Regions from separate parts of the Homo sapiens genome. Here all the other regions are linked to region 2. Evidence: promoter capture Hi-C in human tissues and cell types (Jung and others, 2019). All regions are on one chromosome and are shown on one strand. Each heading gives the region's core, a stretch centred on a gene start or on the middle of the fragment in contact. The rest is flanking DNA. Distances are from core to core; before and after follow the strand shown.

Region 1 (5,793 bases), core at 2,730-5,229, 360 kb before region 2:
TCTAGAACTGTAAAATAATAAATCTCTTTTGTTTTAAACCACCAAGTTCATGGTGATTTCTTATAGCAGCCACAGGAAACTAAAGCAGAGGCTCACTAGATGTTCCACATAATACTTCCATTTTAACTCATTGGTCAAAATTTGGTTACATGGCTACATATAGCTGCAAGGGTGCCTGGGAAAGGTTTTTTTTTTTTTTTTTTTTTTTTTCTGGATGTCATTAGTGCCTCCTAAAGAAGAAGTGAATGCTGTTGGAAAACAACTCATCGTGTCAGCCACAGATGGAGAGATAGTAATCAAAGTACATTCAATATATACTGAACATTTAACAAATGTCAGGTATGTTCTGGGTTCTGGTTATACACTGGTGAACGATAGAGGCAAAATTTCTGCTCTCATGTAGCTCATATACTAGAGAGGGAATACAGAAAATGAACAAAGCTATAAATATATAAGGTAAAAAGGGATGTATGCTATTAAAGAAATAAAGCAGGGGCTGAGTATAGAGTTGGGAGATTCATGGCTATTTTGGAAAGGATTTTACAAAAGAATATGAGAAGCATCCTGTCATAAGATAATAGGGTGTAGTAGGCCAGGTGGTCAACTGGATAGTAACTGCTGTGACTAAAGGTATTTGAAATCAAACTTAGAATCTGCTTCCAAAATGACAATGTGAGGAGCTCTGTGGCTCTCTGCCCAGTGGAACAACCATAATTGATAAAAAATATTTTTTTAAGAAGCTAAAGTCTCTGAAATTGTTATAATGGCATATAGCAGATGATGAAATATTTTTTTAAATCGACTAAATCTTATTAAGAACAATGAGCATCTGTAGCATTTGAGTCATGACCTACTCTCTCCCTATCCTCCCTCCCCTGCCCCACAGTTCAAAGAAACTCCATTCCAAAAAGATGTGGCCAAGAAGATAGGGTACCCTCCTCTCTAAGCTCCAAGTCAAGTGGTGTAGAATCTTCCCTGGAGGGGCAGGTTTTTAGCATTTCTGATTCTCCTGTGCTCTGTGATACAGAGGCTAAATTCCAGGTAAGTGTGAATGAGAGGTTGGGGGATTCCCTTTCTCTACTCAGCCGCCAATCACAGGACAGAGGATCTACTCAGTTATAGCAAGCTGAGAATACTATAGCTCAGATGACACTCAACCCAGATCTCTCATAGGTAGAGGTTTTAGGCCAGCTGTCAGCAAAGGCTAGTCCAGAAGACCAGAGGCTGCTTCCCTCACTCAGTGTCCTGCTCATAAAGCAGGAGTGTCTCTTCAAGAGAAATGGGCCGCTCTTCCCAATCCTAGCTCCACAGAATAGGTACAGATGTTTTGCCAAGGGAGACAGGTATAAGAACAGAGTTCTGAAGTTTTCCTCTTAGGAACTGACTTTATTTGGAAGAAAGTGTGGTAAAGAAAGTTCAAGCCTAAGGGTGATCTCAAAAACTTGGAGATTTTTCGTGGTAAGGAGGCTGGTTGCAACATGAGAACAACAAACTAAACTATAGACCAACTAGTTTATTGAAGAGAACCAGGGAAAAAGCTAAGAAGAGCCTTACTTGGATCAGAACAAACCTCGAAAACTGGATTTAAAGCCTACCCTTGCAAAGGGGGCCTGAATTTATTTGCATCAGACTATGGGGCACTTTATGCTCCAGGAAATTGCCAAAAAATGATAGAGCAGTGAATCAGCAATTAGTGGAGCCTAACAGCTGGGTGTGATACCAACAGAAGCAGACAGCTTAACAGAAAGTTCAGAAAAAGAGACAGTGAAAGAGAGCCCTACTAAAAACACTCTCATCCCAGTTTAACTGTGGGCATGCCCAAGCTTCTTACTAAAGAGCAACAAAGTTGACAAGATCCCTTTGGCAAGTCTGATCATGAAAAAAAGAGAGACAGAGAGAAGACACTGATTGCTAAATTAAAGATTGGAGGAGGGGTTATTACCACTAACTTCACAGAATAAAAATGATTACAAACATATATTATAAACAATGGTATATCAGCAACTTAGATAACCCAGATGAAATGGACAAATTCCTAGAAATATACAAAGTACCAAAACTACTCAAGAAGAAATAGGAGAGCTGAGTAGATCCATAAAACACAAAGAGATTGAATTCAGGAGTAACAAAGTTCCCACAAAAAAAAAAAAAAAAAAAAAAAAAAAAAAAAGCCAGAACCAGATGAATACACTGGTGAATTTTACCAAAACTTAAAAAATTAATATCAATTATTCACCAAATTCTCCCAAAATATAGAAGAGAAAAGAACATTTCCCAGATCAGTCTATGAGGGCAGCGTTACTCTGATACTAAAATCTGACAAAGACATCACAAGAAAACTACAGACCAATACTTCTTACGAATATAGACACAAAATATTCAACCAAATACTAACAAACTGAGTTCCATAATATATAAAAGGGGTTATATTCCATAACAATGTGAGATTTATCCCAGGAATGCAAGTTTGGATGGACATTTAAAAATCAATTAATATAATATATCAGTAGAATCAAGAACAAAAAACATATAAGCATTTTGATAGATATAGAAAAAGTATTTGACAAAATTCCAGATCCCTTCATAACAAAAGCAATAAGACTAGAAGGAAATTTCCTTTACCTGACTAAGGGCACGTACAAAAACTCCACAGCTAACAGTTTATTTATGTATTTATTTAATTTTTTTTGAGACAGAGAGTCCTACACTGTTGCCCAGGCTGGAGTGCAATGGCATGATCTCAGCTCACTGCAACCTCTGTCCCCCGGGTTCAAGCGATTCTCCTGTGTCCGCCACCCAGGTAGCTGGGATTACAGGCACGCACCACCATGCCTGGCTATTTTTTCTATTTTTAGTAGAGATGAGGTTTCATCGTGTTGGCCAGGCTGGTCTTGAACTCCTGACTTCAAGTGATCTGCCCACCTCAGCCTCCCAAAGTGCTGGGATTACAGGCGTAAGCCACCGCGTCCAGCTGCTGACAATATATCTAAAGGTAAAAGATGGAAAGCTTTCCCTCCAAGATCAAAAACAAGACAAGAATATCCACTTATGCTATCTCAACCTTATACTTGAGGTTCTAGTCAAGGATATTAGGCAAGAAAAAGAAATAAAAGACATCCAAATTAAAAAGGAAAAGTAAAACTACTTGTATTAGCAGATGACATGATCTTGTATATAGAAAACTCTAAAGAAACTATTAAAACTAATAAATGAGTTCAGCAAGTTTGCAAGACACAGATCAATATTCAAAAATCAACTGTATTTGCACACTGTAGCAGTGAACAAACTGAAACTGACATGAACAGATTAAATCCATTTACAATAGCATCAAAAGAGTAAAATACTGAGAAATAACTTTATGAAAGAAGGACAAAATTTATACTCTGAAAGCTATAAAACACTGTTGAAAGAAATTACAGATAACCTAAATAAATAGAAAGTCATCCCATGTTCATGGATTGAATTACTTAATATTGTTAAGATGTCATTACTCCCCAAAATGATTCATAGATTCAATGCAATCCTTTTCAAGATCCAAAGTAGCTTATTTTTTTGTTTGCAAATATTGACAAGGTGATCCTAATGTTTATATGAAAATTCATGGAACCCGGAACAGCTAAAACAATCTAGAAAAAATGAGAAAAATGTTAGTGGATTCATATTTTGTTGCTACAAAAATGTAGCAAGTGGATTCACTTGCTACAATGCCAGTAATCAAGACAGTCTGGTACTGGCATAAGGATAAACATATACATGAGTGGAGTTGAAACGAGAGTCTGGCAATAACCCACCACATTTATAGTCAGCTGATTTTCTACAAAGGCATCAGAAGAATTAAATGGTGGTAAGAATAATCTTTTCAACAAATGATGCTGGGAAACTTGATGTCCGCCTGCAAAAGAATTAAGTTGGCCGTTTCCCTCACATCTGACACAAAAATGAACTCAAAATAGGTCACAGATCTAAAGGTAAGAATTAAAACTACAAAACTCTTAGAATAAAATAATCTTTGTAACTTTGCTAAGCAATGGATTCTTAGGTGTGACACCAAAAGCACAAGCAACAACAACAAAATAAATAACTTGGACTTAATCATTATTAAAAGCTGTCTCACTTAAAGGACACCATCAAGAAGGTAAAAAGACAACCCACGAAATGGGAGAAAATATTTGCAAATCATATATCTGATAAGTGACTTTTACCTAGATCATATAGAGAGCTCTTACAACTCAACAATAAAATGACAACCCAATTAAACAATGGGTAAAGATGCAAATAGTCATTTCTCCAAAAAACATATACAAAATGTCAATAAGCACATGCAAGGATGCTCAACATTATTAGTTATCAGAAAAATGCAAATTAAAATTATAATGAGCTACCACTTAACACCCATTAAGATGGGTATAATAAAAATTACAAATAATAACGTGTTGATGATGATGTGGAGAAATCAGGATTCTAATACACTACCAAAGGGACTTTAACATTTTGAAGCTGCTTTGAACAGTAGTCTGACAGTTCCTCAAAAGTTTAAACTTAGAGTTACTATATGATCTAACAATTCCACTCCTAGATGTATACCCAAGAGTAATGAAAACATATTCACACAAAAAGTTGTATACATATAAATGTTTATAGCAGCATCGTTCATAATGGCCAAAAAGTGGGGGAGAAACCCCCAAATGTCCATCAGTTGAAGAAAGGGCAAATAAAATGTGGTATATCCATATGATGGAATATTATTAGGCCATTAAAAGTTATAACATGTTACAGCATAGATAAACCTTGAAAACATGCTGTTAAGTGAAAGAAACCAGTCAAAAATGCCCACACATTGTAAGATTTCATTTATGTAAAATATCCAGAATAGGCAAATATATAGAGACAGAAATTAGATTAGTCATTTCCTAGGCCTGTGGGATTTAGCTAAGGTAGATGGGGAGTGACTATTCACTGGCATAGAGTTTCTTTTGGGAGTGATAAAAATGTTCTAAAATGGACTGTAGTGATGGTTACACAACCTTGTACATATACTAAAAACCACTGAATTTTACACTTTGTAAAGGGGTGAATTGTATCACATGTGAATTACATGTAAGTTTATATATATATAAGAGAATATGCTAGCTAAAAGAAAACTAAATAAACTACAATAACAAAAAACACATCTGGGGTTTTATTCAGCCCATGCATAACCAAATTGTGGTGCCTAAGGTAGAGTCTTTATAAGATCCCCTTCAACTTCAGGATGTTCATTTTATGGTAGAGAATCCTAACCTAGGAAAAAAGGAATTAATATCTGGTATACAAGACCAAGAAGGGATTATATTTATTCAGCTGACTAGCCTTAAAGAAAAACAAGGAGGAAAAGCTATGCATAATTGACCAAGCGGAGGAAAAAAAAGTTGGCTTCTAATCTCCAACTTAAAACAACATGGTCTGAAGACTAAAATTTTCTCCATGGCTGAGAACATCTGATCTTATGAACCCAGAGGCAGGAAGGGGTTTCTTGGGAAGAGCGAGCAGTTCTGTGTTGATCAGGCGCTCTCAACCGTGGAGAAAATTTTAGTCTTCAGACCATGTCCTGTTAAGTTTGGGATTAGAAGCCAACTCAGTTTAGAAATAGGAGTCCTGGCTAGGCGCGCTGGCTCACGCCTGTAATCCCAGCACTTTGGGAGGCCAAGGTGGGTGGATCATGAGGTCAGGGGTTCAAGACCAGCCTGGCCAACATGGTGAAACCCCGTTTCTACTAAAAATATAAAAATACAAAAAAATTTGCCGGGCGTGGTG
Region 2 (5,425 bases), core at 1,838-4,337:
GAATCAGCCAATGAATACTTCCACTTAACCTACAATACCATTCAATTCCAGTAAAGTCCCACGAAGAAAACGGGCTAAAAACTGTCCCTCCTTTAACTCCAGGTGACCTTGAAAAGGTTTGCTTCTTTCAGAGCAAATTTTTATGAGGGGCCAATTTATTTTATTTCATTTTATTATTTCTTTTCTCTTTTTTTGTAGAGACAAGGGGTTGCTATGTTGCCAAGGCTGGTCTTGAACCGCTGAACTGACCTCATGCAATCCTCCCACCTCAACCTTCCAAAGTGCTAGGATTACAGGTGTGAGCCACCATGCCTAGTCTTAATAAATACTTATTGACTACCTACTATGTGCCAGATCTCTTCTAACTGCTGAGGGAAAAGCTGTGAAATATCAATGAAATCGCTGACATGATTTTCATTAAATACTTTGCATGAGAAGAATAAGAGAGAGCTAAAGAAAAGTTATACATGCAATAAAAGCTTGAGGCAATTCTCTGAATGATTTTAGCCATTTTCCCACAAAGCAACCCTCCAAAAATCTAGCAGTGCTTCTGATTAATCAGTTATTCATGACATATGATAATAGTTATGAACTTGGATTGAACGACTGAAACGGAGTTTGAATCGTGTCTCTCACTTACTGGATTGAGGGGGGTCAAATTATTTCACTTATTCAGATCTCGGTATCCTTATTGGTAAAATGAGATTACTGACACTGACTTCCTGAAAGAGCTGTTTTGAGAATTAAATTAAATGCTATATGTTACCCCATGGTAAGTACTGAATAAGAGTACTTATTTAGACAAAGAGTAATTATTCAGACAAAAGATTTTTGCCTGACTTGCTTAGTTAGCTCAACTGTCTTTTTCATGTCTCACGATTTAAAAGACATTTTCCTAAGATTCTTTAAGACTTTTTTACAGATGTAAATGCAGAAGCCAGCTAATACACTGAAGAAAAGATGGGTAGACTCACTAAGGATGAGAAATTCATAAACCTAGGTTCTTGGTCACCTCAGGAGTTCACCAAGAGATATTTTGTATCTTTCTGGCCTATCAGCTCTTGTGGATCAATTTTTTAAAACTGTAGACAAAGTTCATTCTTCAAGCAAAGTCCTAGAAAGAAAGCAAAGGAGAGAGAGTACACAAAGGAGGCTTCTGTCCCTACATATCGTAATTTCTATACCATTAGTTAACTTCTCTTTGTCAGGAAGGATTTGAACTGAAAGAGAAAAAAAGATTTAATGGGAAATACTGGAAAGTGCTATATTTTTGAGTAATTTTACAATGGAAGTACTGGAATATTTTCCACAGGAATCAGCCAATAGATTGATTTCTTGATATTTTTCTGTTCCTTACTAAATTTTCAGCAACTCCCAGACACTGTGATTGTGGGGAATGTTGTTATAATAAAAAGAAAGATTGTGTATTAGAAGAAACGTATTTTAGTGAATTAATTTGGAGGTTCAAGGTTTAAATGCCATTCTCTAAAAATCTCTAATTGTGCACAATACAGATGTTATTTTTCCATCCTTACATTTTACATATCCATTATGAAATTCCAGTAATAAGACGATGGTAACATTATCAATTTGGGTTAACAATTATTTAGCAAATTCGTCTTGCCAAGTCATTTTTACCCTTCACCAGAAGAAATATATGTATTAGTATCTCAAGAATAGTTGACATTGCTAGCATATTGCGATTTGGTTCCTGGTGTTGGCAATCTTTGGTATTTCTAGTCCTGAGTGCTAACCTACCACGCAACAGAACCTCAACCCCCGTTCTAGGATACTTGGGCAAATATATATTTATTAGTCATATATTTATATATTTTTAACGATATTGTCATGTCTTTCCTCTTGAAATTATCTTGAAATTCTATCTTCCTGAGGGCTGGTTAAAGAAAAGGCGCCACTGAACCACCCAAGATTGAACAATTCACACACACACACACACACACACACACACACACACACACGAAGGTGTAGCTTGAAGCGCCTGCTTTCAGTCTTTCCCAGTCTTTCCAAGCATCTCTCAGGCTGAAAGCAAGCGGAAGTGATTGAGAAATCCCTCCAGGGACTGGTGCCTCCCACAGGGATCTACAACTTTACACTCCATCCCCCCTTCCCCTCCCATCTCTAAACCCCCTGGTAGTGAGGGGCGCCAGAGTCCCCGCCCCTTCTTGCTGCCAAAATTTGTTCTTAACCTTTTTTGGGGCAGGGGACCTACAGAATGCTATGGACCCTCCATGAATGGTGACAGAGGTTGGTGGAAAGCACAGCTTAAATATTTTGCGAAATTTTCAAGAGACCACGTATTAGAAACACACTCCGACCTGCAGGATTAAGAACCCCATTTCTAAAACTCTTGACTTGGGGTGATTAAATCGAGAGCGGAGCTCAGGTGCCAAATCTCTTCCCGAATGAAAAAGTGTAGGAAGGGAAGGCGCTCCGGCGCTGGGCCACTTTCACTTGTAAGAAACCAAAAGATGGGGACTGGTGGCAAGAGATGGGGACGGAAGAGAAAGGAAAGGAAAAGGAGAAATGTGAGAAACAGACAGGGACACGGTGGGGCGGGGAGAAGACAGACATCACAGGGGAAAATGGGGAGAAGGGACAGAGTCCGAGAGGCACAGCAGCAGAGAGACAAGGGGGAGGAGGAAAAAGAGACTCGGAAGGGAGGAGAGAGAGGAGAGGAGAGGAAAAAGACGAGAGGGGAAGTGGCTGCACGCGCGCCAGGAAAGGGAGAGAACTTTCCCTGCTTTCCCTCCCCGGGGCAGGGAATCTCAGAAAACCCCACTTCAGCGAGGTGGCGGGGACCAGGAACAGCTGCCCCGGCGCTGGTGACGCCTCTGGCCTCCGCCTCTTGCAGCCGGCAGGGCCTCCGGCTGCGAGTCCCGCACGGGCCGGCCGAGGAGGGGACATGGTCTGGAAGGAGGCGGTCCCCGTTCGTCTCGCTTTCTCCTCCCCTCTCCTCCTCTTAGAGGCGTGCACCGGGGGCATTTGAGAGGCTGTGGACCCGCGGCCCCCCCGCCTCCGCCCCCCCAGCCCCCCATTCAAGAAGCCGCTCAGCTATCCCGGCCAGCACAGGGCGCCCGGCGCGCCTCGGAGCGCAAGTTCCTCGCCTTCTCCTGCCCGCTCGCTGGGCATTATGCGGCCAAGCAGCCGAGCCCCAGTCCTCCTCCTCCTCCTGCTCCTCCGGCTCCTCCTGCGGCCCGAGCGGCTCAGCTCTCGGCAGGCGGCGGCGTTGCTCAGCCGAGCGCAGACGGGACCCTCGCAGCGAGACCTCAGCGACTCCTAAAGTCAAAAGTTGGCGGCGGGCGCCGGGCTCCGCGCGCTCTCCACGGCCGCTGCCTCGCGTCGCCGCCGCAGCCAAGGAGGGCAGGAGGGAGGGGGGTGGGGGCAGCGGAGGGAGGGGTGGGAAGCACCATGCAGTTTGTATCCTGGGCCACACTGCTAACGCTCCTGGTGCGGGACCTGGCCGAGATGGGGAGCCCAGACGCCGCGGCGGCCGTGCGCAAGGACAGGCTGCACCCGAGGCAAGGTAACCAGGCTCCGGCCCCCGGGACCCCGCCGGCCCCGACGCCGCCTCCCGGTCCTCGCTCCTGGGCAGGGGCACCCCGCAGCGGAGGCTTCTCTCCTTTTCCTAGAAAGAATTATCTCCCGCTTTGCAGCCTCTCCCTTCTTTGGGTCATCCCCAACCAATTGCTAGGGAGGGACACTATGGAAACGAATTTAGGCAACCCCCCCCTACCTTGCTGTTGCCAGATATATCCCCATCCCCACTCCCACGCCGCAAACTAAAGTAACTTAGTAATTGGGGGCACCAGATAGCGTCATGTTTTATTTTATTCAGGTTATTTATCAATATCTGAAATCATATATATTTTGACTTGTTAATTGTCTGGCTCGGAATAGTGTATCCTCAGCACCTAGCACAGGTCCTGTTACTGGCACATAGTAGGTGCTCAGCAAATATTTGTCCACTGATTAAGGGTGAAGGGATTGACTCGAATGGGCTGGAAAATAAGGTCAGAACAAAGTCCCCACCTTCGTTTTAAATTAAAGCTTAAGGAAAAATGAATTATTGGTTCATATACCTCTGCTTCTCTCCGCAGTGAAATTATTAGAGACCCTGAGCGAATACGAAATCGTGTCTCCCATCCGAGTGAACGCTCTCGGAGAACCCTTTCCCACGAACGTCCACTTCAAAAGAACGCGACGGAGCATTAACTCTGCCACTGACCCCTGGCCTGCCTTCGCCTCCTCCTCTTCCTCCTCTACCTCCTCCCAGGCGCATTACCGCCTCTCTGCCTTCGGCCAGCAGTTTCTATTTAATCTCACCGCCAATGCCGGATTTATCGCTCCACTGTTCACTGTCACCCTCCTCGGGACGCCCGGGGTGAATCAGACCAAGTTTTATTCCGAAGAGGAAGCGGAACTCAAGCACTGTTTCTACAAAGGCTATGTCAATACCAACTCCGAGCACACGGCCGTCATCAGCCTCTGCTCAGGAATGGTAAGTGGGCGCGCGCCACCTCCTCTCCCCTTCCGCCTCCTCGCCCGCTTCTAGAAGACTTAATTGTCCTCTAAGCCTAGAGACCCTCACTGTGGCGAGGCTCCGCTCCTCTCCGGCGTTAAATATCAGCTAGAAACTCGTATGGTTTGGGTAGCTAGCTCTGTGCGTGCGAGTACACTGGCGTGGAGCGCACACACCCGCCCCCAGGGGCTTCTGGATGTTTCAGAGCTTTCTGGAGTTTGGACTCGGTTCAGCGGCGCGTTGCCCAACGCTGCGAGGCGGCCTGGAAGTCAGTTTCCAAACTCGGAGAAAGTTACTGGAGTTGCGGTTCCCTGCAGCAAACTTGGCCACCCGGGAGCGGAGCCGCTGAGCGCAGGGCGGACCAGACTCCTTATTGGTGCGCCTTGCATCGGGGATGTGGGGCTGAGGATCCCCTGCCCAAGGCACTGGGAGTTCCTTCAGTGTGTGTTGTGGAGGGCGGTGCGTAATCTAGAGTCCCCGCTTTCTCTCAGGGCCTTTATTCACGCGCCAGGAACCCTGAGGCTGAACTGGATTGACAGGGAGCAGGTCCCGTCCCAGGAACGGAAGGGTGGGCCGAGGGCTCTGGGGGCGGGGGAGAAGGCGGAGCCTACCCCGGACGCTTTGAATTGGGGTGGAACCGAGAGTGGGGGTGCAGCGCAGTCCAACTCTGCACCCTACTGGCGGGGTGGCCGGGAGAAACGGGATAGTGGGAGACAGCCTGGAGAGGCTGTCCGGACGTGATTTCGGTTCCTCTGGGGTTTCTACTACTCACGGGTTCCAGGGAGTGGAGAGAGGGAGCCTGCGGCGCACGTTTCCCTAGGGACTGAGGCAGGGCGGGGAGGCCGCCTTCTTGCGCTGCCAAATAGCATTTAGCAGGGAATCCAC
Region 3 (5,122 bases), core at 1,389-3,888, 330 kb before region 2:
TTCTTCAACTGCAAAATAGAAATGGAAATAACTAATGAGTAGGATTATTCAGAGAAGTCAGTGGGTTATACGGAAAGGACTTAGAATAGTGATTTGAACAGAGACAACAGTCAATTTTATTCTTTTGTTTGTTTTTTTTTTTTACATTTTGGATGCAGGCGGTACATGTGCTTGTTTGTTACATGAGTATATTGCATATTGGTGGGGATTGGGCTTCTAGTGTATCCATTACCCAAATAGCGAATATTGTACCAGGTAGGTATTTTTTCAACCCTCACCCCTAACCTTCCTCACTTTTTGAGTCCCCAGTGTTTATTATTTCCATCTTTATGTCCATAGGTACTCATTGTTTAGCTCCTATTTATAAGTGAGAACATGCGGTATTTGGTTTTCTGTTTCTGAGTTAGTTCAGTTAGGATAATGGCCTCCAGCACCATCTATGTTGCTACAAAGAGCAGGATTTCATTCTTTTTTATGGTTGCATAGTATTCTATTTTATATATATTTATATCATATAAAATAGGGTATGTGTGTATGTATGTACATATATATATATACACGCACACATACATACACACATACCCTATTTTCTTTATCTAGTCAACCATTGATGAACACATAGGTTGTTTGCTATTATAAGTAATGCTGTGATGAACATACAAGTTCAGGTGTCTTTTTGATATAATAATTTCTTTACCTTTGGGTAGATACCCAGTAGTGGGATTGCTGCATCAAATAGTAGTTCTATTTTTAGTTCTTTGAGAAATCTCCATACTGTTTTCCATAGAGGTTGAACTAATTTACATTCCCACCAGCAATGTATATGTGTAACCTTTTCTCCATATCCATGCCAACATTGACAACAACAAATAAACGTTAGTTGTAGTTGTGGTTGCTATTATTACTGGGACAAATGTAGGCAGCTAACAAGAGTTGGTGTCATGGAAAGAGCTAGTGTACACAGCACAGTATTCAAACTCCCAGTCTTCCCAAGTCAAAAAAGTCACTGCTAAAAATGTTATCCTCTTTCATAAAAGTCATTTGCAGTTTCACTTAGTTTTAATGCAATGTTCTATTTGGGGTTTCTAAATATGACAGTGAAAAGTGAGAAAGACTTCTATGAAATATTACTGTTATTTCTACAGGCAGGTGCAATTGCATTTGGACCTTGACTCCAAAATTAATCACTGACTTCAAGTTGACACACTCGTGAGGGAGTAAACAGCAAAAAGTTATAAAAAGTTGGATTTATTTACCATCACTTTTTAAATGAATATTTTGAACAGCAGTATACGAGGTTTGAGGATATAAACCTGTCTCCTGCTGACTTGAGCATCTAAGTTGCCCACAATTACCTGATTGTTTTGTCACTTTGATGGTACCTTCTATTTTTGGTGAGCACTTTGCTTGTTTTTAGATAGGTTTTACTAGTGTAAAACAAACATCCTAAACACCCCCAAATTTTCTGAGGCCAAAAGATATACATTAAGTTGTGACAGGAGAGCTAATACAGATTCGTAGGAGGCTGTGAAAGGAGTTTTAAATGCAAAATATTAAGAAGGATCACTCTTTTTGGAGTGCATCATTTCACCTTCTAATCTTTTAAGGAAACTGATCAGTACTAAATGAAAAGATGTGGTGGGATGAGTTGCTTCGGAATAGAAAAAGCACTTTAAATGATTAGGCTTCCTACATACCTTAAAATAAATTTACTCTGAAATTCCCATTAGATCCCTTTGAATTCACAGGGCAATATGGTCTCCTTGTTTTGTTTAACAGCTATACATTCCCAAGGGTGTTAACGACTCATCGTGCTGGAGTTGAGCTCTAATATTCTTCTTCTCTGAGGCCTTATCACTTATACAGAGTCTGTTGATTAACTGTGTATAACAATATTCCAATTGTCCAATTGAATAGGCTGTATTATATGAATCTCAATAATAACACCATAAAATCTAAGCAGAGAAAGAGAGGGTGCACTGATAAATGTAAGTGCATGCACTGAATTTCTGAAATGTATTTTCTCATTTGGCACTTTCAATGCCACAGTTTAAACACCGAAATGTTCTTTCTGTACATTTATCAATGTATAATTCTTTACATTTGGGATGCTTTCATAAACATTGGTCCATTTTGTAGGAAATTGAAGAAATCATTCTAATTCCACATTTTGGACACTTTATAATTAACCTAAAATTTTTTCATCTGGTTTAAATATTCTGCCAACTCCTCTTGCACCTTACTTCCTGGTCAATTCCCACATAAATTTCTGCAGCTGCAAACTGCCAGGCTGCTATTGATTCTATGTCTCCTTGCTAAAGGTTACTAACTTCATCAACAGTAATGCTATAAATTACATCTGTTAAGATTCTCTTATTCCTTGCTGCTAGGTCACAAGGTACCTTTGGTTTCTGGCTGCTTAATGTTGTTGACATTCATTTTGTCCATCATTCTACAAAGACTATAGAACTGAATTATTGTTGGATACTATTACCAAGTTGACACACTTTCAGCTTCTGGACCATGAGCTGGAACCAAAAATCTGACGTTTTTGGCAACAAATCCCACAGTGTATTATCTTTGGTCCAAAAAGCTTTCAAATAATGAAAGCATGACTACAGCTGTTCAATCTTATTCCAAGTTTCTTTCTGCCTTCCTTCACCCATGCACCCATGACATTCGGATGCACAGACTTGGGATAACATTCTTAGTTTTTATTCAGAAGAAAAAAATAGAGTTGTTAGAGATCTGTGTAAGCAAAAATTAAATGAAGCATCATGGCATTAATGTGAGAAGATTATAGATAGATTCGTAGATCTCAATTCGTATGCTACAAACTTTTCACAGGTTTGCCACCTAGTTGGGAACAGTCTGTGCAGTTTTCTTTTTGTACCTCTGAGGTTATTCACTGTCATGACAACTGTCACTAATTTTGTTTGTCTGAGATGGTCATGAAGCATGGTGGTGGTAGTGGGGCTGAAACTAGGAGTAGGAAAGGAGAGACAGCATAACACAAATCTGAAAAGAAAAATTGAAAACATGCGTGACATGAAAGATGTGCGGGTGGAAGTCTGTAGTATCTTTTCCCTAGAAGGGTATAAATATGCACACCTTATTAACTTTATTGAAGTATAATTTACATGAGACAAAATCAATGTATCTATTTTAAGTGTCCAGTTTAAGTTTTGATATATGCATACATATGTATAATGATCACCAAAATCAAGACACATAAAATTCCCAATTCACTAAAATATTACCTTCTGTTTCTGCCCAGGCAACCTCCCACCCTAACCCCAGCTGCCATTATATTTTCTATCAATAAAGACTAGATTTACCTGTTTTAGATCTTCAAACAAATTGAGTCATATGATGTGTAGTTTTTGGGGATTGGGCACTTTTACTCAGCAAAATATTTTTGAGATTCATTCACATTATGTTCAACAAGTGTTGATACATAGGTAGACAAGCAGTCTGTGTAGCAGACATATGTTTTTTATTTTTCTTGGGCTGATACCTAGAAAAGGGGTTGGTGAGTTATATGATAAGCATGTCTTTAACTTTATAAGAAACTACCAAATTGTGTTCTAAGATGTTTATACTATTTTACACTCTCACTACCCATGTATGACATTTCCAGTACTCCTAAAACCTCTCCAAATCTTGGTAATATCTGCCTTTTTACATTTTAGCTATTTTAGTAGGTGTGTAGTGGTATCTCATTGTGGTTTAAAATTGCGTTTCTATGGTGACTATGATGTTGAGTATCTTTTAGTGTTTACTGACCCTTATATTCTTCTGTGAAGTGTATGTTCAAATCTTTTGCTCCTCTTAAAAATGTAGTTGTCTTTATATTATTGAGTCATAAAAGTTCTTCTTATAGTCCAGATACAACTCTATGATGTTCACTGTGAATATTTTCTTTCAATCTTTGACTTGACTTATTTTTTATTGGTGCTTTGTCAGTAGCAAAAGTTTTTGCTTTTGAGGAAATCTAACAATTTGGTCTTTTTTGGTTAGTACTTTTTATGGTCTAAGAAATCCATTATGGCCAGGCCATAAAATTTTATTGTTTTAGGTTTTACATTTAGTTCCGTGATCTGTGTCTAGTTTACTTTTTGCGTGTGGTAAGGGGTAGGAACCAAAGTTAGTCTTTTTCAATACAGTCTGATTGTTACAGCACTAATGGTTGAAAAGACTATACTTTCCTCTCTGTTCTATTCAAGCTCACTGACCTTTTTCTTCTGCAATATCAAACTGTTATTGCAACTATCTAGTGAATTTTTTCACTTCGGATATTATATTTTTCTGCTTCAGAAGTTTCACTAAGTTCTTTTTTACAGTTCCCATTTCTCTCATTGCATTTATGTTTTTATACACATACTTAAACTACTGATAGCTGTTTGAAAGTCCTTGTCCACTAATTTTTATCATCTCTCTCACTTCTGGGTCTCTTTCTGTTGATGCATTTTTCTCCTGGTCATGGAAAGGACGTTTTTTCTTAATTTCTTGTGTGTCTAGTAATTTTTTTATTGCATGTTGCTAAACATTGTGTTACAGTATTGATTGTCTGGATTTAGTTTTGCTCCCTTAAAGAGCATTGTGCTTTGTTCTAGCAAGCATTTAAATTTCATGTAGATTAGCTTAATCTTTTTGAGATTTCTAAAAAGTTTTATTAGAACAAGTATGGAGTACAGTAGCCCTCCCCGCCCCCCTCCATGGGGAATACTTTCCAAGACCCCCTGTGGATGCCTGAAACTGAGGAAGGTACCCCCTGAACCTGATTGCTATTGATTGGAATGCCTCTCTGTTCATGTCTTGCACCCACAAATGTAACTCCTTTTCCATCTTAACTAAGCACTTTGCATGAACCGTGGTGGTAACTTTTGCAGTTTGAGGTGCAACAGCAAAACTAGCAAATATCTTTTTCCTTCTTCACAATTCCAAGGATAGAAGATGTGTTCTTACTGTAGATCTCAGCTGCCTCAGCATGACTTTTTTTTCCTTGTTAAGTCAAGAACTTTCACATTTTTACTTGAAGTACTTTGTGGCTTCTCTTTGGCTTATCCAAATTGCCAGCATTGCTATTCTTGCATGTGGGGGCTGTTATTAAACGAAACAA
Region 4 (5,935 bases), core at 695-3,194, 270 kb before region 2:
CTATTATTCATAAAATTGCTATTTTAGGGTGTTTTGTTTTTTGTTTTTTGTTTTTCCTTTTTTGAGGCAGAGTCTCACTCTCGCCCAGGCTGGAGTGTAGTCATGCAATCTCGGCTCACTGCAACCTCTGCCTCCCGGGTTCCAGCAATTCTTTGCCTCAGCCTCCCACGTAGCTGGGATCACAGGCACCTGCCACCATGCCCGACTAATTTTTGTATTTTTAGTAGAGACGGGGTTTCACCATCTTGGCCAGGCTGGTCTTGAACTCCTGACCTCGTGATCCACCAGCCTTGGCCTTCCAAAGTGCTGGGATTACAAGCATGAGCCACCACGCCTGGCCTTTAGGCGGGATTTTTAATGGTGCTAATCAACGCTTCAATTAAACAACGAGTACTATTTAAAAAGGGAAAAGGAATTTACTGACATTTATAGGAATTCTTTTTTCTCTTCCTAGCAAGAATAGATGCTCTATTCTTGCCTGTATATGGGTTTTTCTTTCTTGTAAGTTGACATTTGCAATTTATGGATATTATATTAAAATATATTAAAAATATAATGTCCTTTTTTTTCTGAATGATAGGAATCAGCTTAGCATGATGCATTTCTTTTTGGTATAAATAAAGGGTAATGGTTGAATTTATGAAAATCAATCTAAAAACACAATTTATTTTGATTAGAGCTGAATCTTTTCTTGAGTTTTCCTTATTACATTATAAGTCCTTTATCCTTTACATCTCTGTTCATTAATGCATGAAGCCAAAAATCATTAAGAGTGCTGCCTCACTATAAATTACTGGGACTAGCTTTCTGTGCTAGAGTTTTATACTGACAATAGCTTCTAGGGCTATAACATTTTCATTATAACTGCTCATGTTAACTGGCAAGCATTACATCATTGACAAGTCTCCAAATCAGAGTGACTGCTGAGTGTATCCATTCAACAAAAATATCATTGCATATTGTTTTGAAGAATAGCCTTAAGAGCAGAAGTGTATCTCATCTTACCAAATGCTTTCCCCATCTTTAACTAGTTATTCTTTCTGATAACCTTATGACAGAGTCCACTATGAACATGCCCACTTGAAAAAAGGAAGAAGAGAGAGGAAACATTCTACAGAAAGGGCTGTGTCAGAGGCTACCATGTTGCCAGTGTCATGTTCTGTTGGGAACAGCTGCCTTTCAATGATTTGCCTCTTTCAATGGTCAATTATGTTCCAGAATGGCTGATCAGATCAATAATAGTTCTTAAATTGCTGAGGAATCTGAGGCTGGGTTGACAGTTAAGAACATCCTCTCCTCCTCATTTCAGTCAAATCAATCAGCCACAGGCCTCCTACAAGGTAACAAAATTGGCAGGGCTGTGAGGTCTGATATTCCAATTGTCCTTCCAGGGAGGAAAATCATCCCTGGAGTCTCAGAGTCACAGACTCTTATAGTTTAAAAGAAATATCCAGTGGTTCTTAACCATATCTTGGATCATGGACTCCTGTGAATCCAACACAAGCCATGTATGGCATCTCTTTCCCCAAAAATACACATAAAATCTTCCTGTAATTAAAGCTCATTCATGAAACTCACCTTTGCTTTTTCAGATGATGAAATACAGACTCAAAAAGGTGAAGTTACATGCCCAGGTTCACATAACTTCCAACCAGGGCCCCCATCAAATTCTCTATTGATACCTCTTGAGAGGTCTGAGGTAATAAGGTCTTCTTTATCTGTTCTAGGAAACAGTACTCTGGTTCTATATAGTTCAGCTTCATTCATGCATTTAACAATATGTGTTGAGTCCTAGAGCCAGGCACTGTGCTAATTCATTCTTATCTTCCACAGCACTGGTCCCACAAACCAAAGAAGAATCAAAATGGCAGTCTTACATGTTGATTTTACTTGTTGGAAAAGTTACAGAGAATGCTGTTTTGCTGATTCTTTTTGTCAGATGAGGAAAATAGACCTCTAAAACAAGTCTAACTTGCCTTAGAATCCTTAATGTACCTCTGGTCCTTTTAGAATCAAACCCAATTCTCTGCCTGGTGTTAAAGACCCATTCATACATGTAAAATTTTATGTTCTGTCTCATCTTTCCAGATTCCTGTACTGAAAAACGCTTTGCTTAAGACACACATTCTACTCTGTACCAAATCATTTAAAAAAAAATCAGTACTATTCTTCATTCAAGTGATTCCCACCCAGAAATCACTATAGCTCTATCCCTCCTTCAAGGCCTGAGTCCTATTACCCTTTCTCTCTGAATCCTATCCTGATCACCTGACTCAAAATCTCCACCTCCCCTTTTCCTCATAATTCCTGTAGCTCATGTGACTATGTCCACTTGGAGGATAATGGTTGACAGTCCTGTTTTATTTCTTCATGCATATATGACTTAGCACCACTAAGAATGTCTATTGTTCATTATATACCCAACTTCCCTTGACAGATTGGTTCAAATGAAGTCTCATAAAAAATGGTCTCCCTTCAAAGGAGTCCCAGATTATTTCTATTTTTAGTAATTGATGATTAACAGAAAGCCCAGTCTATCCACATGTTGAAATCCTGGAGTCTGCCTTCAATGTGGATCCCTCGGCCAAGAATACGCTTCTCATTTTTATTTTCTTCCAGAGTCCAGAAAACCTTGGAAAGCTGCCTTAAGGGGTGATGGAATGAAAAACCAGACCAAACCAGGCAGACATGGGTTCTTCCCTAAATGAACATTCCATAAGCCCAACACAGAGCATCTTCCATTTCAGTGCTCAGCCCCCAAATGCCTCCTGGTTATAATTAAGTACTTCAAAGTTTTCCAAACACCCTTTTAGAAATCCGGTCCCAAATAAAAAATAATGTTCAATCAGATGTAAATCATCGCACAGCAGGGCAGGAGAGGCATGGGAAGTGGTCATCTGCACTTGGACTAATCAGCAAGTCTAGTCCCTTGATGAGGATTTTCATTTTCTCATTTGTCATTCTAGCCACTGAATTCTCAAGTGGCCAATTTGTTCCCTATTGGTAATCAGCTAGTTATTTTTCTTCTCATTTCTCTCTCTGGGATTGTTGGACTGTTTAGAGCAATTCATCACCCATTTGGGACTAATCCTTCTGTGGAGGGAAGTGGGGGAGGGAAGCTGTTATCCTAGAGAAGATAAAGTAGAAGACTATTTCCCCATTTATATTTGGTTGTTAAACAATGATTTCCCCAATGAGGTAAGTGAAATAATGACATAACTGCCTAAGAGTGAAACAATGAAAGCTTTAGGGGTAGGTGCCTTATGCAATGGAAAGTATCCCCAGCTGTGAAGTTTGTTACTCCGAAATGACTTGTTCTTAGATTGTCTTTACAACCCCCAAGGGAGCATCATCTTACATTCATTACCTAAGTTTGGAGGAAGCTGCATCTATGAAGATTATAAATGCAGAAAGAGAGTTTTAAATATGTATAATGCATTGGTGGAAGCAATTTTACCCCATCAAATAGGAAAAAGGTAGCCTTTGAAGGTTGTTTTGTCTGCAACAAGCAAGTTCAAACGTTCTTCCATTTGTTCTCGCCAAGTCTTCTCGATTACAGCATCTCACTTTGGTTTGCCTTTTGTCCTCTCTTTCTCCCTCCAGCAGTTGCTGTCTCTCTCTGTCTCCGATAAAATCATTTCCAAACGTTTTCAGGGATTCCATTTTTCTAAGTTCACGTCAGGTGCCATGGAAAGGTTGACCCCACCACTCATTGCAAACAAGTCTCTGGTGTCGGTGCATTTTCTAATTAGTGGGTGTCTAAGTTGATCTCTCAGATTTCCTTCCGTCCTTCTGAAGAACCTAATTTCAAACCCTCAAGGCTGACTGTGTTCACCAGAGCCAAAGGTTCACATTTCCGAAGTCCACGTTCAGCCTTAAGAAAGATGTTAGTGTGACACAAATTGGCATTTTCTTGGCAAGTTTTTTTGCTCACAGCAAATTCTTTATTCCTTGGAAGGAAGCTGAGAGTTGAAAACCCCTTCTAGCTATTTCCTTAGAGACACTCTGAATTCGGGCAGCAACGTGATCTGAATCTTGAAATGTTTATCTTCCTCCACCGTTTTTCATTTCTTGAATCCTTTCTTGTGTCCTTTATTCTTCATATAAACATCCACATATGTAACTTCACTTTTAGGTGGGTCTAGCTATAAGGAAAATCAAAGGAGACAGAGAAAGCACGTTTACACACCCCATATCGAGTGTTCTTGCTTTTCTTCTGCCAATTCCCTCCACGCATGGCTGTTTTCACAATGGGTGATATCACCCAACAGCTGTCTTGGACTGGAAACTAAAATGCTTGTAGAATTTCAGTTTTTTGTCTTACCTACTTAAATTTGTCCCTTTTCCAAAAACACTAAAAAAATAAAAAAAAAGAATAGTTGCCTTCAGTGGGAAATTATTCCTATAACTGAAAATAAGTTGTTTTATAACTTACTCTGCTAAGGTTTTGTTGTAATTGCCCCTAATTCTAAATTTGCTTTCGAGAATCATTAACTGTGATTATATGGACATGAGCTTTTATATTTGGTATTTGATAAAACAAGAAAATTGATTTTGTAAAAATCTGTTTTCCATCTGCAATTTGTGAGCAGGAAATGGGTGGAAAGAAGTAATGCGTTACCTGCCTGGTGTTCTCAGGCTGACCTAAACCAGAACTTCAATATCTCATGTACTGCCTATTGGTTGTTTAGCCTATGGATTTGCTGAACCCAGTGAGCAGAGATCTCTGTGCTTCATTCTAGGTAATTAATCTGGTTATTTACTGATGTCCCTCGACCTCCCTCCTCTGAAAACAGCAGGTTCCTTCATTATCATCAAAAATTGCTTCCTCACTAAAGTCTTGATTTCTGAGATTCTTATTAGGTTGGTGCAAAAGTAATCGTGGTTTTTGCCATTACTTTTAATACTTTTCTACCTGTTTTTCCATTGTCTTATCTTGGGTCCCATCCTCATTACAATATCTGTCCACTGACCCTTTCCCCTACTTTGAACATTATGTTATTCCCAAAAAAGTGTACTCATGACAGAGTGTGAAGATCTCCAATGAGTACCACTCCTGAAATCCACAGACTACCACTGTTTCACAGTGGGTACCTGCAGACATTGCTTACTGCTCCACAGATTTTCACAAGTTAAACAAATCTATTTAACCAGCACCTAGATCAAGGACAATTTCTGAATTTTTATAGCCGCTGGACAGAATAATGTCTGTTGAAACTAATAAAAAATGGGGCTTATATTTTGTCTCTTTATTCCATTTGTAATCATTCAATTTTCTTGAATTTAAAAAAATGTATTGGCCTGTGAATCGTTACAAATAAATAACCAAATAAAATGAAACAAAACTGGTCCTTCGCCTCTGATCATTTGAAAAGAACTGATCTAGATGACCTGAGAACCCCTATCAGATTTTGTGTCTGGTTATTTTCAGCTGCTAATTTGAGCTTTCCTCTGAGAACCAGCCCTTCACGTGAGGCCCAGCTTTCTGAACAGTCAGGATAACACCCCTGCTCATCAGAGGCTGCTTCACTCTCCCAAGAGTCCATGTCTGTGGGCTTAAATAGAGTTAACACAATGGGTCTGTTCAGGGCCTTGAGTTGATTTCCTTGGGGTCCCTGCCTTGCAAATATCAGTGGGGCTTGGATACAACAAGGAAAAGAGTCCCTGGCTGAAGGCCAACCTCGAGTGTAATGATTACATCATAGTATACACTATAGAAATTATCTTCCTGGTTCTTATACAGAAGCTGACAGTCAGTACTGGACTTTTCCTCCTCATGTGCCAAGATTATCTGCCAATGTCAACTTTTCCTGTTGTGAATGGGTACAAGTTGTGATATTGCCATTCAAGGACTTCCAGTAGCAGTAAGAGGAAAATTATGAACCAGCTCCCCTCAGAGAGGAAGTGCCTTTGCAAACAGGTCGTCAGTCATGAG

Evidence for each region. The method cuts DNA at HindIII sites, captures the fragments that hold promoters and counts their contacts. A contact is called where the count stands out against the background at its distance.
Region 1: a contact is called between a fragment that was not itself captured here and the fragment with the promoter of ADAMTS9 in region 2, in 1 of the 25 tissues and cell types used here (H1 embryonic stem cells).
Region 3: a fragment that was not itself captured here is called in contact with the fragment with the promoter of ADAMTS9 in region 2 in 1 of the 25 tissues and cell types used here (H1 embryonic stem cells).
Region 4: a contact is called between a fragment that was not itself captured here and the fragment with the promoter of ADAMTS9 in region 2, in 1 of the 25 tissues and cell types used here (heart left ventricle).

What each region holds. Positions count from the first base shown.
Region 1 is chr3:65,044,262-65,050,054 of GRCh38, reverse strand. No RefSeq gene overlaps it. Among named protein-coding and RNA genes, the nearest start is that of LINC02040, 130 kb to the left of the region's middle. The HindIII fragment of the contact is 3,128 bases long and covers 2,416-5,543 here.
Region 2 is chr3:64,685,662-64,691,086 of GRCh38, reverse strand. ADAMTS9 (ADAM metallopeptidase with thrombospondin type 1 motif 9) reads left to right here and starts at 3,087. Exons shown (of 40, transcript NM_182920.2): 1 at 3,087-3,544; 2 at 4,119-4,519. The coding sequence starts at 3,430. The region is part of intron 1 of ADAMTS9-AS2 (ADAMTS9 antisense RNA 2); the gene reads right to left. The HindIII fragment of the contact is 6,670 bases long and covers 1-5,425 here.
Region 3 is chr3:65,013,327-65,018,448 of GRCh38, reverse strand. No RefSeq gene overlaps it. Among named protein-coding and RNA genes, the nearest start is that of LINC02040, 160 kb to the left of the region's middle. The HindIII fragment of the contact is 4,541 bases long and covers 368-4,908 here.
Region 4 is chr3:64,955,106-64,961,040 of GRCh38, reverse strand. All of the region lies in intron 4 of ADAMTS9-AS2 (ADAMTS9 antisense RNA 2), which reads right to left. The region is part of intron 1 of LOC105377124 (a long non-coding RNA gene); the gene reads left to right. Among named protein-coding and RNA genes, the nearest start is that of LINC02040, 220 kb to the left of the region's middle. RefSeq lists a silencer at 1,660-1,860. The HindIII fragment of the contact is 5,795 bases long and covers 1-4,841 here.